Linked DNA regions of Homo sapiens: regions 2 and 3 are each linked to region 1. Evidence: promoter capture Hi-C in 16 types of primary human blood cells and fetal thymus (Javierre and others, 2016). All regions are on one chromosome and are shown on one strand. Each heading gives the region's core, a stretch centred on a gene start or on the middle of the fragment in contact. The rest is flanking DNA. Distances are from core to core; before and after follow the strand shown. Region 1 holds the start of TIGD2 (tigger transposable element derived 2). Region 2 has its middle 6.3 kb from the start of PKD2. Region 3 holds the start of KLHL8 (kelch like family member 8).

What was found. The method cuts DNA at HindIII sites, captures the fragments that hold promoters and counts their contacts. A CHiCAGO score of 5 or more calls a contact.
Region 2: a contact is called between a fragment that was not itself captured here and the fragment with the promoter of TIGD2 in region 1, in 1 of 17 cell types (total CD8 T cells). The highest score is 5.1, in total CD8 T cells.
Region 3: the fragment with the promoter of KLHL8 here is called in contact with the fragment with the promoter of TIGD2 in region 1 in 3 of 17 cell types (non-activated CD4 T cells, naive CD4 T cells and naive CD8 T cells); the score reaches 7.0 in non-activated CD4 T cells.

The regions. Positions count from the first base shown.
Region 1 is chr4:89,110,242-89,112,941 of GRCh38, reverse strand. It overlaps TIGD2 (tigger transposable element derived 2), which reads right to left and starts at 1,409. Exons shown (of 2, transcript NM_145715.3): 1 at 1,059-1,409; 2 at 1-875. RefSeq lists a silencer at 1,152-1,601 and enhancers at 1,682-1,761, 1,792-1,901. The HindIII fragment of the contact is 10,355 bases long and covers 1-2,700 here.
Region 2 is chr4:87,999,956-88,002,655 of GRCh38, reverse strand. It overlaps the pseudogene RNU1-36P. Among named protein-coding and RNA genes, the nearest start is that of PKD2, 6.3 kb to the left of the region's middle. The HindIII fragment of the contact is 161 bases long and covers 1,179-1,339 here.
Region 3 is chr4:87,219,297-87,221,996 of GRCh38, reverse strand. It overlaps KLHL8 (kelch like family member 8), which reads left to right and starts at 1,379. Exons shown (of 10, transcript NM_020803.5): 1 at 1,379-1,579. RefSeq lists silencers at 1,160-1,649, 1,990-2,259 and an enhancer at 1,765-2,377. The HindIII fragment of the contact is 8,812 bases long and covers 1-2,700 here.

The sequences.
Region 1 (2,700 bases), core at 160-2,659:
ACAAGATAATTAACAACTAAGATTTGAATACAAAGCAACTAGAAAATGAGTTCGTAAGATTCCTCCTCTCACTTCTAGGGCCTAGATGGATAGTGACCAATTTCCTGACAAGGTCTACGTGAATCTACTTGCTATTTTAAAACTTACAAACTTCCTACAACAAAGCCTAGCGCCAATTAACTCTTATCTTCTATCTTTCTTCCTCCTCAGGGTTCAGGGTCTTTCATGAAGTGCAATCACACTAGAGGCTAGAAACTGTACTGGTAAGGCTTCTAAAACAGTACTATTGCATACTCAATTCTTGCCATCCTTGCAGGTAATGTTCTTTGCCAGAATAGCCACTAAATCTCAGGTGGAAGTATTTTAGGAAATGTGCTAGGGAGTAAACAGTTTAAGTCAAGAGAGGACTTGCAAACTTGACATACAGGAAAATACAATGGGAAAACTCACCCTCTGACTATGTGGTCTTTGTCAAGCAGTGGATTGTATGGAATGCTGTCTCTCTAGGCACGGACTCTGCTATAGGTTGCGCAAGTGAGTGCTTGTGGAAATCATACGCAAGAGAAGATGACCCGGACAGAAGTGAACAGTGCAAATAAGGTGAAAGTGGAACAGGCAGAAAACTCTACTTTAAAAGCGACTTAAACCTACTAGATTTGGCAGCTGGAAAGGAGGATAGTGGACATGTGATGTCACATTACTAAAGAAAGCATCAAAAAAACTGCATCGGTGGAAATGAGGACCCAAGGTAGAGGCTATGGGGTGGCAGGCTCGGTGAAGATGATGTTACAATAATCCTGGTGAAAGACGATCCTCGATGGACCAACAGAAGCAGTTCCTGTGGGGGCTGTAGAGATACTCGGAGGCTCCGAAACCTAAAGGAAAATACCAAAAACATTTTCTTTCAATTCAACATCAGGATCTGTGGCATTATCCACATTTATCCTGCAACTATGTTGAGAAAATTAACGCCTCCTATCAATGTGATAGCTAAATACGACAAATAATGCTTTCAGGCATAATCTGGGGTGACAGAGAGAGGGACCTGAAGAGCCTACCTCCTGAAATTAAGAGGTCAGGGAGAAGCCGTGTTAGCGAGGGCCTCTCCCCGCTGGGCGAGCTTCAGAGCGCGGGACGTCTTTCCTCCCGCGGAGGGAGCCCGGATTCCGCCTGGACGCCGGCGACCAGGATGTCACTGCTGCAGCCAGCCAGCCAGCGGGCGGCCGCTTGGCACAGGGAACGCCAGTCCGCCGGCCCCGGGCATCGCCCTGGGACCGCCTGCGCGGCGCCCAGACCACACTAAGCGCAAATGGAGTCTCCTGAGGCAGGCTGGCACTGGTGGCCCGGCAGCGGCGAGGGACGAGCGGAGAGGGACGAGCGTCGCCGCCGGAGCCGGAAGGCGGGGGATTAGAGAGCACGCGCGCGCCCCCGCAGAACGTTGTGCCGGCGAGGGGGCGGGGCCTGCGCGGGTGAGCGCACGCGGCCCGGGGGAGGGGACTCCGGCGAGCGGGCGGGAGGGGCGGGGGCCCGGCAGGGGTGCGTCTCTAGGCGCTGCGTGGGTTCCACTCACCGCCTGGCCGTTTCGGGGCCGCAGTGCCTCCCTGGCCGGCAGGGGGAGGCACACGCTCGCCTTGTCCTGGCGCTTTTCCCAGTGGCCCGGCTCTGCCGACGAGGCTCTTTTCTCCCTAGGGGGAAATTTTAAAATCTCACCCCCCCAGTGCTGGGGGGAAAGCGGAGGATCCTCGCGTGCCGGGAGCGGGCTGCGAATGGGGCAGGGCGAGCGCACGTGGGGCGTGTTTACAAACAGCAGCCGCGCCGCCTTGCGGAGGCGGTCCAGGTGTCGGAGCCCAGAGTCAGCGCGCGTGGAAAGTGCTAGCCCGAGCGAGGATCATGAGGCACGGTAGGAGCCGGCGGACGTGGGTTCCGGGCAGGAGCTGGGGCGTTCGCTCGGCAACACCCAGCCGGACAAGCCCAGGGTGCCGAGGCGCGGCGGGCTGCGGTAGAGCCGAGTGTCGGGTCAGCGCTCCCCGGTGCTGATGCTCCGAAACTCGTCACAGTCGCTGTAGAGACGGACCCTTTGCAAAATCGACAGCACCTGGGAGACCCTTGAGCCAGTGGGAGGCGTCGTGGTAAATTTCCTGCCGTGCCTCGACGCCCGGGGCTTCTCAAGTGGAATCGGGGAATTGCGCTTTGACTGATACTCCCTTTATTTGTTTCCAACGGAGACATCTGCGGAAGGGTCACCGCCTTCCTGGAGGAGAGAGTGGTGCACCTCCACCTTGCACCACCTGTTTCCTGGGAAACGCGGTCAGGCTGCCTTCCTTTCCGTCTTGTGTGTGCGTGTCAGTTTGAAAAATTGGAAATTCTTCAGTGAATTATCTCTTCCATATGAACATAAATGTAACCTTTTCGTTAACACAAAGTAACATAGTAATTCGTCATTTCTTTGACAAGGCCATATACTGTTTCTGGAATTTCAGAAACTTGGAGATGGAAATCAAAGCGAGCATACTGTAGAAAACAGATGTTGATTCTAAGCCTTCTGTTTGACTCCGCCGCCAAAACTGCTCAATTGCCTTTCTCAACATAGCAGCCTTCCACTATCTGGCATGACAGAAATTCTTTGATCTAGTTATGTTGTGAGGTTGTAAGTGGCTTTTGGAGAATACCTGCTTTTAGACCTCCCCTCTTCCCTGCCTT
Region 2 (2,700 bases), core at 10-2,509, 1.1 Mb after region 1:
AATCTCTCTATCTCAATTTCCTTCTCTGGATAATGAGGTTAAATACCCATCTTATAAATCCCCCACAGAATTTTTGTTGAGGACTAATGAAGGAATATTAATAAGTTTATAAAACATGTATTGAGTGTCCGCTACATGCCAGTCACTGTGTTGCATTCCAGAGTGACAAAGATAAGACATGATTCCTACCTTCAATGAGATCAAATCTTATAGTTAAACTGCCTGGAAACATCCATAGATCATTCTCAACTTCTCTACCCATAAAAACTTAGGAATTTTTCTAGACTCAGACTTCATCTCTCCCTGGAACCTTCCATAGACACAATCTTGGCCCCCAGCATGAATTGACATGCCTCTCTACCCTGTAAACCTTTATTCCAACATTTGCCACCTTATACTGAAAATATCTGTTCACATAGACGTCTTCGTGAGTGGCACATAAGCTCCTGGAGAGCAGGGACCCTGGCTTATTAGCAGCTCAGCAGCCAGTCTGTTTTCTAGTGCAAGTTTTCTTGGGGACACCCCCACCTACCCACCCCTGCTGCCATTCTTAGCCTATATGTGTCTCAGGTGTGGCAGACACCACTGCTAGCTCCCAAGTGGTGATTGTGGAGCTCAGGCTTGCCCAATCAGCATCACGTCTCCTTGGCCCCTGTGAATGGTATTTCACAAGTATGTTATCCTGTTGTGTTAAAAAAAAAAATTAGGCCAGAAATTTTTTTCCAGTTGTTGGAAAAGAAAAGCTTTTCTTCCCACCAGATTTAGAGTTTTAAAGATGTAAGTCCAGACAAGCTGGCAGCCAAAATGTTGATGCTCAGGGGAAAAATGGCGCCAACAATGGAGATACAAAAAATATTTATAATGTGGATACTGGAAGAATACTAAAATTGAACTAATGTTTGGGTGGCCATGCTATTCAAGAACATTATGAAATACATTTTTATTGTGTGCCATCTCCTGGTTTTGTCAGATGCAGATTATGATATTTATTATCTATATTTTTATCCAAGTTCAAAAGAATTTTGAACAAATTGGGGCCAAGAACAGAGTTCTTTGAAATACTGTGTGCAGCTCTTCTCTTCATCAACTCTAGTTTATTCACTAGTACTGTTTGGGTATAGTTGTATTTTAAAAAAACTTTAAATCCAATTTTCACTAGCCCAGATTTTTCCAAAGCTTATCACAATTTTTTTTCAAATACCTTTTGATGCCAACATGAATGAGGCTTCCAGCATTCCCAGATCTACCAGACTTTGCAGAGTACCTGTTTTATGTCCCCTTCGTACAATCTTAGATATGATTAGGATGCTAAAGAAGTTGTTTATGCCTGCAAGAAGCTTGTAACTAGCTTGCTATACATGGATAAAACATTTAACCAATAAGAGCTTTATGACATTCTTCTGGGAAGTTTTTTTTGTTTTGTTTTATTTTAAATAAAGATTCTGGAGTCTAACTTCTAGGGATTCTGATTCATTATGTCTCAGCTAGGTCCTAGGAATCTGTATTTTAAGAGAGTAGATCAAAGAGACAGAGAAAGACTAGGTTCTCAGGACATCATTTGAACCCCTGAGTTAGAACTAATTGAAGCTAGATCCACCCCTGGACTCCATGAGCCAAAAAATATCCTTTTAAAAAATTAAAAAAATTATTTCAACTTTACCCTTGCCCCTTTCCCTCCCTCCCTCCTCTTGTATTCCCCACTGTCTATTGTTGCCATCTTTATCCATGGGCACCCAAAGGTTAGCTCCCACTTATAAGTGAGAACATGTGGTATTTGGCTTTCAGTTACTATGTTAATTTGTTTAGGTTAATGGCCTCCAGCTGCATCCATGTTGCTGCACAGGACATGATTTTATTCTTTTTCATAGCTTCATAGTATTTCATAGTGTATAGTACCATGTTTTAAAAAATCCAATCCATCATTGATGGGCACCTAGATTGACTCTATGTCTTTGCTATTATGAATAGTGCTGCAATGAATATACAGGTACACATGTCTTTGTAATATTATTTACAGCATTCCCATCAGCAATAAATAAGAGTTCTTTTTCCACATCCTCAACAGCAGTAGCATTATCAGTGTTTTGGATTTTGGCCATTCAAATGGGCGGGCAATTGGATCTCGTTGTTTTAATTTGCAATTCCTTATTGACATATATGTGGAGCATCTTTTCATATGCTCAGTTGCCATCTGTATATCTTCTTTGGTAAGGTGTCTGTTCAGGTTGTTGGCTCATTTTTTCCTTTTATTTACTGGGGAAAAGCATGAATGCAGTATGCTGCTACCACAAATTACGCAGTTGAGTTTCCCACATTTGGAGAAATCACAGGGATCAGCAAGTCTTCAGTGGAATAGAGAAGCCTTGCCCTAGGGAAAACTACCCTTGTGGTCATGGTATCTACCCTGCCTGGTAAGTCTTTTGGGCCTATTTTTCAATCGGGTGGCTTATTTTCTTGTTGAACTTTAAGGGTTCTTTGTATATTTTGAATCACAATCCTTTATCAGATAGGTCTTTTGCAAATATTTTCTTTCAGTCTGTGGCTTATCTTCAATTTTTTTTTTTTTTTTGAAATTTTATATTAAGATAACTTTTTATTCAATAGATCAATAACATTCAGTGTTAATAAATATAGGCAATAGGTATTCTCATCTATGTGCTTTTGGTGAGATTATAATAATGTAGTGAAGGCTTTTCGGAA
Region 3 (2,700 bases), core at 130-2,629, 1.9 Mb after region 1:
TTCAGCGCGGCAAAGCACCATATTTTGGGGTATCGATTTCTGAGTCCCAACAATTTTTACATCACGTTCCAGACACATTTTATGACTTTTCTTCACTGCATACTTCTTTAAAACTCATCTTACTCTATTTTTCTAAAGGTATTTGCATTAAATGTGCAAAATACTAATGCTCTAAAGAGGAATATTTTGAAATATTAAGAATTATTTATATTTCAATGTAAAAAATGTGATTTTTTTTCTAGAAATAAAATTTCAAATTCAAATAGTTGCTTTGGGGTTTTTATAGAAGATGCATATATATATACAGATATATATATGTTCATTTCTATTAAAATCAATGTGCTAATGTTCATATGTGTTAATATTAATAAAGGTCCTAGGATTAAATTTATTCTGAAATAGACTCCTAGGATTGTGAAAGTTTGAGGTTAGTCTGGCAAAAGACACATTTAGGGGAATATCTTTCTTTAAAAAAAATTTTGTTTTTTTGCTGTCTCTTGATCTCCCGCCTCACACATTCCACTTTATTGACATTATAGAAAAATTAATTCATTTCAACAGCACTTTTACTTGCATTGCTTTTTTTTTTTTTTTTTTTTTTTTTAGACGGAGTCTTGCTCTGTCGCCAGGCTGGAGTGCAATGGCACAATCTCAGCTCACTGCAACCTCCGACTCCCGGGTTCAAGCAATTCTCCTGCCTCAGCCTTGCGAATAGCTGGGATTGGTGGCACGCACAACCACGCCCAGCTAATTTTTGTATTTTTAGTACAGACGGAGTTTCACCATGTTGGCCAGGATGGTCTCGACTCCTGACCTCGTGATGCGCCCGCCTCAGCCTCCCAAAGTGCTGGGATTACAGGCGTGAGCCACCGCGCATGGCCACTTGCACTGCTTTTTAGCAGCGAGCTCTCAGGTCAATCAACTGCTTCCTTAGGTTTACAAACTGTGGGTGTGTATTTATAAACACAGTTGTTTTGTATATCCTTTGTAGAGCACGTGGTGAAAGTGACACAGGAATAAATGCAAACCTTTTTTTCCCCTTCTTTTTTCAAAGACATAAATCCCAGGAACACTCACAACCGCAGAAGGGGATTTGATGGACATACAAAGAAACTAAATTTTGTACCGCCGCAGAAGTGAAGCATGGATAAGCTCAAAGGTATTTAGGCAGTGTTTTATTTCAAGATTTGTTATGGGGACCTCCGCCACGCCCTGGTCCGCCTTCACCAGGCCGGGCAACACTGCCCAGTCCCTGAGACCCGGCCGCCCACTAGGGAGCCGCGGGGGCGAGGCCGTGGGGGTGGCCTCGGGGAGGAGGTCCCGAGAACCACACTTCCCAGAGTGCCGTGCGCAGCCCCGCCCAGCCCGCCCCGCCCCCAGAGGCCGCGGCTCGCGGGGGCTGAGGCGAGAGGACGCCAAGCGCCCGCCGGGGCTCCGCGGGGCCGCGCAGGAGAGCGCGCGTCCGCCGGGTGCTCGCGCGGGGTTGGTGAGGTTCCGCTGAGGGCGGCCGGGGCTCTGGGAGCGTGGTAACGTGGCTGCAACCTTAGCGACATCAGGAAGAACAGGGTCGAGGATCGAGGTAACGGGACGCTCGTCTCCCCTCAGTCCCCTCGTCTCCCCTCAGTCCCCTCTTCCTTTGTGCGGTGCCGTCCGCTCGCGCCGAGCCCTCCCTCACCCCAGCCCCCAAGTCGCAACACCGTCCCGTCTTGGGTCTCCGGTGTGCGGAGGAAATTCGAGCCCTCGTGCACCAACCGAAACTCCACAGCTGAGAGGGCTTGGGGCCCGGACAGCAGGAGATCCAGCCCCTGAGCAACCTTCCACGGCTTTTGTCGCCCCCATTGGCGGGAGGAGCAGGGTTATGCTCCCGGCTCCCGTAGGGGAGCTCCAGCCTCTGGCTCTGTCAGCCTCCCCGGCAGCTCCTTGACTCCTTCCTCCCAGTCTTTCGAAGAGGGGCCCAGGCAGGTGCTTCGCGGGGTCCAGGAAGAGGGCAGGCGCGGTGCGGCTGGCGCGGGTTCGGGGCCCCGGGAGGGCGGCCGGACGCCCCCTGGAGCCGCGGCCTGCGGGGGCGGGGCGAGTGGGCCACCTCCGGGCCACGCCGCGCGGGGACGAGGCGAGGAAGGCACTGCCTGTCCCCACTCGGGGGGCTTGCTGGCCGCCCTGGAGGTGCCTTCCCGGGAGCGGCGGTGTAGACCTTGTGGAGAGTGCCTCCTGATGTGGAACCAGGAACCGCAGCCTCTTTCTAGACGCTCAGCCGCCCGGTGGAGTTGTTACCGCCACGATGACAGCTCTTTACGCCTTCCACTCCGTGCTGGGTTCAGTTGGCTTGCTGTTTTCTTCAGAGAGAGCGATTTGGCTACATAGCTTGAATTTTCTACGTGTCTCGTGCTTTACTGGACTTGCACTGTTTTTCCCTCTTGGCAGTGTTTAATCGGGTGACTTTTCATAGAAAACGTTCAGTATTTTCATCTGTGTTAATGGCATAACTTTCTTCTTGACTCTGCCCTAAGCTAATGTTACCAGTTTAGAGGGATACTTTGGGAAAAGGTCCTTAGAACCTGGGTTGACATAAGTATTTTATCTGCTGGTTGCACGTTTTTTCCTTTGCATTGTTTTTCTCCTATACAAGATGGTAATTGTTGGACTCTTGGTGTTCTTTATTCTCTCTCTAGAAGGAAATCCTCTTCGCGCATCTTTCTCGTG